Regions from separate parts of the Homo sapiens genome. Here region 1 is linked to region 2. Evidence: promoter capture Hi-C in 16 types of primary human blood cells and fetal thymus (Javierre and others, 2016). All regions are on one chromosome and are shown on one strand. Each heading gives the region's core, a stretch centred on a gene start or on the middle of the fragment in contact. The rest is flanking DNA. Distances are from core to core; before and after follow the strand shown.

The links. Contacts are between HindIII fragments. The CHiCAGO score rates a contact against its expected background, and 5 or more counts as called.
Region 1: a fragment that was not itself captured here is called in contact with the fragment with the promoter of OXA1L in region 2 in 3 of 17 cell types (endothelial precursors, total B cells and naive B cells); the score reaches 8.1 in endothelial precursors.

The regions. Positions count from the first base shown.
Region 1 is chr14:22,391,637-22,396,344 of GRCh38, reverse strand. All of the region lies in intron 2 of TRD-AS1 (TRD antisense RNA 1), which reads left to right. It also overlaps TRA. Among named protein-coding and RNA genes, the nearest start is that of TRD-AS1, 89 kb to the left of the region's middle. The HindIII fragment of the contact is 4,039 bases long and covers 1,225-4,708 here.
Region 2 is chr14:22,763,649-22,768,128 of GRCh38, reverse strand. OXA1L (OXA1L mitochondrial inner membrane insertase) reads right to left here and starts at 1,441. Exons shown (of 10, transcript NM_005015.5): 1 at 1,365-1,441; 2 at 720-881; 3 at 1-171. The coding sequence starts at 1,427. OXA1L-DT (OXA1L divergent transcript) reads left to right here and starts at 1,567. Exons shown (of 3, transcript XR_001750638.3): 1 at 1,567-1,705. RefSeq lists enhancers at 1,333-1,562, 1,156-1,719, 1,720-2,282, 2,283-2,846. The HindIII fragment of the contact is 1,636 bases long and covers 315-1,950 here.

The sequences.
Region 1 (4,708 bases), core at 1,995-4,494, 370 kb after region 2:
TTTTTTCTTGCCTTTCTCAAAATCTGTACCCCCACCCCTGCCACTCTCCTACTTCATCTCTTTCCTTCTCTGTCTTTCAAGATCACATATCTTTCTGCAAAATACACTCATGAACAATTTTAAAGGGAGAGCAGGACAATGGACAAAGGAATAAGGAGACATTCACCCCAAGATGCCTGGACTTAGGGTTACACAGAATTGAGCTGGTGACAACTGTGACTGCACAGATACACCATAGACATGTGCACGAGGAGTGTTGGTGGCATGGCTGTAGGTGTGCCCACACCAGAGCAGGTGGGGTGGCATTGGTGGCCAGAGGCTTGCCCATGGCAGTGTGGATGGTGTTTGTGACAGTGGAGCTGGTTGGGAAGATGTATGTGTGCTGCACGGTGGCCCTGGACAGGCCTACCCAAGACTCCCAGGAAGGCTGTCTTTGCTGTTGGGGGAATGTTGTACTTGAAGCCATTTTACTGGGCTGGGGTGCCAACTGGATAGGGAGGTCAAGGATTTAGAATATTTTCCCTGGATCTGGGTTTCCTTGTTCCAAATCTGAAGACAGGGGAAAAGATTATTCAGAGAAGAAAAAGAATATAGATGTTTGGCTTTTATTTCTTATTCAATCAGTGATCAAATGGGCACAGACAAAGTAGTTGGGTGCTTATTCACACGAACAGCTTTATAAATAAGAGGAGTGGGCAACTATGTAATGATTTTTGAGGGTCCCGAGAAGACCACTGCCCCCAAATCTCCTCTATTGGTACCTGGCATTCTGCCACTGGAGATTAAGCCTTTGGACCATAGAAACATAAAAGCATTCCTGGAAGGATTGACACCTTAAGCCTTAATGGACAAATGAGTAAGGACTGATTTCTAATGGTAAGACCTTGGGGCTTGGGAACTAGGGAATCTTCCAGTACATAGCCAGGATGTCGGGAAGAGACAATCTCTCCCTTTTCTTTCATTCCCACATATCATTTATCTATTTTTGAGGTGTTTCTTAAATCTGTTTTCTCTTTCCAAGTCCTTCTGATCCTTCTCAATGTCTACCTCAGTTTCATATTAACTTTACATCTGATCTCATTGTTTCCGGTCTTGGAACCAGTCTTCCCACCCATAGTAATCTTTCCAAGCACTCTTTGAAGCACATTTCCTCTTATATGCCTGTGATTTCTGCCCATTTCCCATATAACAGAATCTAGTCCCTTAATGTGATTCACAAAAGCTTTCTCAGTCAAGCCACAGCCCACCACTCCCACCACTCCACTGCCCCAACTCAGGCAGACTCAACTCTCACCAAGTGATCACTGTTCCCCAAGCACAGTTCTATATCCCTCCTGGACATTGCTCAAGCTGTACTCCCTCTGCCCGCCATGTCCTTCTCCAATCCCTCATTTGTCAAAATCATTCATCCTTTAAGTCACTTTAACTAAAACTTCCATGGGGAGGATTTCCTAGTCCTCCTGAACCAAGCTAATTTCCCCTCCTTTGGGCAACTGTGCATTGTACTCTGACCAACATTTGTCACGGTCTGACTTCAGAAATTCATGACATAAAAGTCTATATATGTCTCCCATTGGAAACCACATACTCCTCCCATTCTCTCACTGGCTTTGTGAAGGTCCATTTCTAAAAGATAGGTTTCTTAGGGAATTGATTTTCAAGAGGCTGCCAGGGTGCTCTATCCAAGACACAGATGATTCTTAGAAGTCTCATCTGAATCCTGTAGGCAAACTGCTGGACTTTGAACAGAACTTGAAAGAAAGTTTTCTGGTTGGATAATTTCTGGTGAATGACCTGAAAGCCCTGGCTCCCACACCAGAAATAGTTGGGATTCACAGTCCTTATTGGAGTCCTCAGTGTTCAACAAAGTAGCGTAATGTGATCATTTCCCCAGGGATAACCCAATGGGTGCAGTTTGGAAGGACTAACCAAGATTCCATGCTCTGCCACAGCAGCATAAACAGGGCTGCTTAGTTTTGGAATTATAAGAAAGGACTATGGTCTCAAGGGAAGCAATCTCAGACACTTCTTGCCCGGGCAAAAGTTAGTGTCAGTAGGAACTGGGAAAGATTCTGGGCTTTTTGGAATCCCAAGACAGGAGGGTCTGTGGCCTGCCATCAGTGTTAAACCTGGACATCAGGCCTGGCATCAGGCCTTAGGTATTATCCACTCACCGAGCCTTGGACCTGGAAATCACAGCCCTGATGCAGGTCTGTATTTGAATGCAGGGAGCTGACCCTGGACACTTCCTGCCTATGGAGTCTTATGTATTGACTGCCAATCTCCTCTCTTAGGGAAATTTCTGTACATTGTTTTTTGCGGGTATAGAACAGAGATTTTGCCCTAGAAACCCATCCCTTACTCACACCAAAGGCATCCTGAGCAAGACATACTAATAGGACATGCTTCACCTATGATCAACTCACCTCCCATTGGGCAGTGACAGAAAAATGTTATTTTAGAATGATTTTTTTCAATCTCTGTTTGCACTCAGGAAAGGTGTCAAAGGACACCTTTTTTTTTTAACAGCATTTTTATGAGAAGGATGAGGCCCATATACTCTGGGGACCTAGGTTTGAACTGTAGGGAGAGATTTGTTAGAAATTTTAATAATAGGGATAACTTATAAAAGCAGGATTTCCTTTTTTCTTTCTTTCTTTTTCCTTTGGCAGAGCTGCTCCTTGAAGATTGCTGACAGCATTGAATTTCTGTAGGTAAAGACCCTAGATGAACTTTGAGCACTCTTCTTCTGTTGAGAAAACTAGTTGAGAATGAGGTTATTCTCATTTCAAATAAACACTCACTCATTGTATTGGAGATTATGAAGTTATCATAAAACTGAAAACAGGTGTCGTGCATCAAAATAGTAAGTGTTCTGTTAGGAAAATTAAATGGTGTCTGTTTAGTTAGAATGAGGGGCATATTTTTCCCAAGTGTGAATTTAGTTAGGGCTGTTGATGTCACACACATAGTGTTAGAAGATCTAATAAGACAGTTGAGCACCAGGTTTGCTTTGTCGGGGTCATGAAGGTCGGGCCCCGTCTGAGAAGGTGGAGGGGCAGGTAGAGCGCTTCCCTGGAGGAAATGTTTTTTCTCACTGTCAATCATCCCAGGGCAGGAAAAGAACTAGTCTTGGACTGAGAAGAAAAAATCTCCTCTGCTCTCTGCACTTGGAGATATGGAGATGCCTGCAGACTTCTACCGGGCGCCTTGAGCTGGTCTTTGCTATGCGTAAGCCTGCCTGGAGGTAGAAAGAGTCTCAAGTTGGGTTTTGGGTCTCAAAATGTGCTCTTCTTTCTTCCTCAAACATTTAGCAGTGCTTTGAATGATTAAGAGAGTAGACCATGTCCACCTGACATGGGATCCATTGTGGTGAAGGTAGAGGGGAGAGCAGCCTGGAGAAAAGTCTCACAAGATGATGAAAGATGGCCTGAAGAAGAGCTCTGGCTCCATGGAACTGTCAAGCCCCGTGGGGACCCACTGTGGCACATGAAATGCCCACAAATCACTTGGGGACATCACGGATACTCAATATTCCACATGATGAGCCCGCAGGTTCTTGTAAATTGAATATTAATGAAATAGTGTCTGTATTTTGTAATCCACAGGCTGGTGAGGTCTGAGGACACATGGATGACACAATGAAGGACTTCCTAAAAATAAGAGACCTGAAACTCTTGAAGTGGTGTTTGAAATAACATTTGTACAATGACAACCACTGATTTAATTAACCACCTGACCATCCTTAGTTGTCTTTAAGACTAAGAATGCTCAGCAACTGATTAATGATTTAAACTTTGGGTGTCATAAGAGCTAGAAAACAACAACAAATCTGAAAATGGCCAGTTCCATTTTATACATATGTATCCATACACGCATTCATCCATTTATTCATCCAGCAAGTATTTGTTGCCAAACACTGTGCTTGCTACAGGAATGCAGACCTTACTAAGACATTACCCTCCAGGGGCTTACATCTGAGTGAGTGAAGACAGGTAGGAATCTGCATCCCCTAGTCAGAGACACAGATTGTTTCTGGTTAATGACACAGTTAGGCAAGCACCCCGCTCAGTTTCTTTCCCAGGGGATTGTGTCACCCATGAAACCAGATGTGCTTTTCCGTGAGCTACCTTTTATTCCTATGATCCCGTGTGGGGGAGATGCTGTAATAGACCTAGCTGTTCTGCTAGCCTATGGGCGCTCCACTGGTCCTTGGTTTTGGCTTCCAACCAGAGGCTGCTTCCTGAAATGACAGGCAAGGTTGAGACAAAGATGGAGCGGAGCACCTAGAGTGCTTTGGCTGGTCCAGCATTGCCCTCCAGTGTTCAAATGCAGGAAAGTGGGAAACAATGAATTCTTAGCATGAAGTCCTGAGATGGCTGTCTGTGGATTAATGAGGGGGTTCCGGGTGGCTCCCCCAGATGAGGGGTGGGAAAACAGAAATTGGGAGCCAGAGTTGAGAAATAAAAGTGAGGATTAAGATTCATTAATGACAGGGCACCTTGAGAGATAGGCATAGAGAGAAATAGAAACAAAGACCCTGTCAGTTTCCTAACTTGGATTTTGTCAGGAGAAACAGCAATTGTCCAGCAAGATGACCAGGCTCCCCTGGAGATTAGAAAGCATGGTGGTGGCAGTGGAGGACTGGTTGCCTAGAGCTGTATATCCAGTCTTCTCAGTCCACCCTTTTCAAGGTTCTAGGGAGACT
Region 2 (4,480 bases), core at 192-2,691:
CATAAATTCCAGTAAATTCTGGATCAGTCCCACTGGGGTGTATGACCCCAGCCCCAGTTCAGCGAAGCTCTGCTCTGCAGCAGTTTGGACTACATCTGCAGTCTCTCCAGAAGCCACCTCAGGTACTGCTGTGGGTGAGGGAGTTGCAGCAACAACAGGAGGGGCCTGAACCTGTGTGAAAGAAAGCCTTGTATTATATTTATTCAGTAGCGAACACAAAGCAAGTGAGATCTTTTTATAATAACCAGTACTGGGTTCTGTTCTCTCTACTTCTTGTTCTTCCAGGTTAGCCTAGTGTCTGCAGATTTCAAGCTTAAAAAGGACATCTCATTTTTATCAATAGTTAGGAAGAGAAGTTACTTTGAGTAAGAATCCATGACTTCCCTTCATGCTGGGAAGTTATTTCTTTTATCACTGTTTTCCAAACTTCAGCCATTTGAATATCACTATCATGATTTTTGCCATATATTAACATGAAACAATTGCTTTTCTTTAAAACAGCTCAGAAAACCAAATATAACATCTCTCCTGTTGTACTTTCAATCATTTCCCCACTGAATTGAAAATCCATCCTAAGCAGAGATGCTATCATTTTGGAGAGCTGTGTGGAGCGTGGACAAGAACTCTGCTCCATATTCCCCCTGCTCCCAAACAAAACAAAATATGAAACCAACCAGGAAACACCACTCCTAATATTGCAGGAACGAAAGGCCTCTTACCTGGACTTCTGCAAAAGAGATAGCAGAGGTACTGAGGCTGCGGGGGCCGGAAGCCGCAAGGAAGAGGTAGTGTGGGCGACAGCAGCACGGGGCTGCTGGGAATAGGAGCCGTGTGGTCAGCGGTTTCCCAAGCCATTGCGAGGGCCCTGCGACGCTGTGGACCTGAGCGTGTAAAAGGATGATGGAGCCCCTTTACCGGGAGCAGAAGTCCTCGCGTGGGTGCAAACGGGATTCATTATGCTAACTCCCCAAGAAGCAGGCAGCTCGGCCACTACAGGGGAGGACATTGCTATCACCGCGCGCAGACCGCTAGCCCGAAGGCATGCAGCGGGTGGTGCCTGCAGAGCGAAGCTCGAACCTGGGTTCCCCGCATCTCAGTTATCGCAGACCCACATCGGAGGGCCCTGAGAACGAGGCCGAGGTGCTCTCGCCAGGAGCCAAGCCAATTCCAGAAGCTGACACCGGGCTGCTGGGCCCATAGTGTCGGGGACTAACCCTAGCGCGTCCTCACATGACCCGAGGTCATGACATTCAGGTCCCGGTGAGCAGGTCAGCGTCTGCTGATACCCCTAGCACGAGCTGTCCTGGGGCCTGGTTCACTGGGTCAGGGCAGCATCCCGGTGCTCTGCCCCGGGGCATCCTTACCCGACGCCCGGACTGTAGCAAGCGCAGAAGCTCCCGGCGTCCGCACATTAGTCCCATCGCCATTTTGCCCGGAAGAGGACTTGCTTTTGCGCCTGCGCAGTAAGAACCACAACCCCTCGAGAGGAAGCACTTTTGGAGGCGGGCATGAAGCCAGAATTGTAGCCGCAGATCAGGCGGTAAAAGAGAACGGAGCTTGGCGGCCATATTTGAAGTGGGTAAAAATCTGTAAAGCCACGTTACCATTAGCACGCAGAGAGCCTTTTCTGGAGATTGAAAGGAAGTTGAAGAGCTGGGTTAGCTATCATCGTAAGCTATCATCGTTAGTGATGGCGTAAACCTGGGTAATTTTCCTCTAATGTCGCGATTGTCCTCTGATTTGTAAGTTTAAAAATAGCCTCAGAAAAGGCTTGGCTGTACTTGCAGAGGATTTTTCCCACTCAATGATGTTCGATTCTTTTGATTCTTATTGCTAGGTAATATTGTAATCGCAGGTCCAGTGAAATTTGAGGGTAGTCTAGAGTCTGACAGAAATTAAAAGAAGGCAGCTTCTGGGAAATATTTTCCTCCCAGATAAAAAGACGAAGCTTCCAGAGGAGACTTCACCTTTCCATTTTTTTCTTCTGTAAGTGGGGTGGTGTGAGGACTGACCATGAGGGGACAAGTTTCCAGATGAAAAGCTCACGTGCAGGCCGGGCGCGGTGGCTCAGGTCTGTAATCCCAGTACTTTGGGAGGCCGAGGTGGGTGGATCACGAGATCAGGAGGTCGAGACCATCCTGGCCAACATGGTGAAACCCCATTTCTACTAAAAATACAAAAATTAGCCGGGCGTGGTGGTGGGCGCCTGTAATCCCAGCTACTCGGGAGGCTGAGGCAGGAGAATCACTTGAACCCGGGATGCAGAGGTTGCAGTGAGCCGGGATTGTGCCACTGCACTCCAGCCTGGGCAACAAGAGCGAGACTCCGTCTCAAAAAAAAAAAAAAAAAGGAAAGAAAAACTCACGTGCTGAAGATGGTTGAGGGCAAAGATAGAAAACACCCAAATACTTGATGATATCATTGAGCTGCTGTACCATGCTTGGAACTGCCTATCTCCAGACTTTGTTGTGTAAGTTAATTAAAGGTCTTGGCCGGGTGCAGTGGCTCATACCTGTAATCTCATCACTTTGGGAGGCTGAGGTGGTCTCGATAACTAGGTCAAGAGATCGAGACCAGCCTGGCCAACATGGTGAAATCCTGTCTCTACTAAAAATACAAAAAACAAAAAAACAAAATAACTAGGCGGGCGTGGTGGTGCATACCTGTAGTCCCAGCTACTAGGGAGGCTGAGGCAGGAGAATCGCTTGAATCCGGGAGGTGGAGGTTGCAGTGAGCCGAGGTGGAGCCACCTCACTCTAGCCTGGGCGACAGACTCCATCTCAAAAAAAAAAAAAAAAAGATGATTAAAGGTCTTTACTGTTTAGACTCTAAGTCTGTTGCTTGGGTGTTCTGTTTCTTGAAGTTAAAAGCATTCATCTTCAGGGAAAAAAGTTACTGGTCAGAAAGGTGGAGTTTGATTATGTTTGAACCCTTACAAAGTCTCTCAATATGCAGATTACTTTCTAAACAACAAATTATAGTTTCAGAAAGATACAATAACCTGAAATTATTTCAGTGACTGCTCATTTGGAACGATTATGAATGTACCTGACAGATATGGCGAAAATAGGAGGCAAAGAACTATAATACTGATTTAGTAATAATTAGTGGTATGAGCTAACACTTGCATATGTTGGATGCTATTATAAACATCAATAGATTTTTGATATGGAAACACTGATTTTTTTTTAGAGATTACTTTTAAAACTCAATACAATTAGAAGTAATTACAAATATACAGCTACAGAACACTTGGCAGGGTGACTATCTTACAGTACACTGCTACTTTGGTGGCCCCAAATGAACCAGGCTTCCCAATATTTGCACCTTTAGGAGTTCTCTTCTCTTGAGTCTGATTGGGCCTGTCACTTGCTTTAATCAATAGTAGAATGCGTTGGAAGTGATGTTATGCCAGTTTGGGACTATGCCTTAAGAAGGCCTGATAGCTTCTGTTTTTGCATTCGGGGGAAGCCAGCTGCTGTGTTAGAAGTTTGACTTCTCAGACTTACTGCCTGTGAAAAGCCCAACCAACCATGTGAAGAAGAACTGAGGTTTGGGCCAACAGCCTCAGTTGAACTCCCAGCCAGCAGTCAACACCAACTTTTGCCAGCCACGTGAAGAAGGCCATTTAAAAAGTGGATTCTCCAGCCCACTGGAGCCACCTCAGGTGACTGCGTGTGGAGCAAAGAAAGGCTATTTGAGCCCACATTGCAAAATTACAAGCAAATAAATAAAATTATTGTAGTTTTAAGCCACTAAGTTGTTTAATAATAGATAGCTAAAATGTACAGGCAAACTTGGAAGATACTGTGGGTTGGGTTCCAGACCACTACAATAAAGCCAATATCATAATAAAGTGAGTCACAGGGATTTTTTTGTTTTGCAGTGCATATAAAAGTTATGTTGGGCCGGCATGGTGGCTCAGGCCTGTAATCTCAGCACTTTGGGAGGCTGAGGCAGGTGGATCGCTTGAGCTCAGGAGTTTGAGACCAACCTTGGTAACATGGTAAGACCCCATCTCTTAAAAAAAAAAATACTAGGCCGGGTGTGGTGGCTCATGCCTGTAATCCTAGCACTTTGGGAGGCCGAGGTGGGTGGATCACTTGAGGTCAGGAGTTTGAGACCAGCCTGGCCAACATGGTGAAACCCGTCTCTATTAAAAATACAAAAATTAGCCAAGCGTGGTGGTGGGCACCTGTAATCCCAGCTACTTGGGAGGTTGAAACAGGAGAATTGCTTGAACCTGGGAGGTGGAGGTTGCAGTGAGCCGAGATCATGCCATTGCACTCCAGCCTGGGCAACAAGAGTGAAACTCCATCTCAAAAAAAAAAAAAGAAAAAGTTATGTTTACACTATACTGTAGTCTCTTAAGTGTGCAATAACATGTTTAAAAAACAATGTACATACCTTAATTTGAAAATATTATATCGCTTAAAAATGTTGATGATCATCTGAGCCTTCAGCAAGTCATATTTTTACT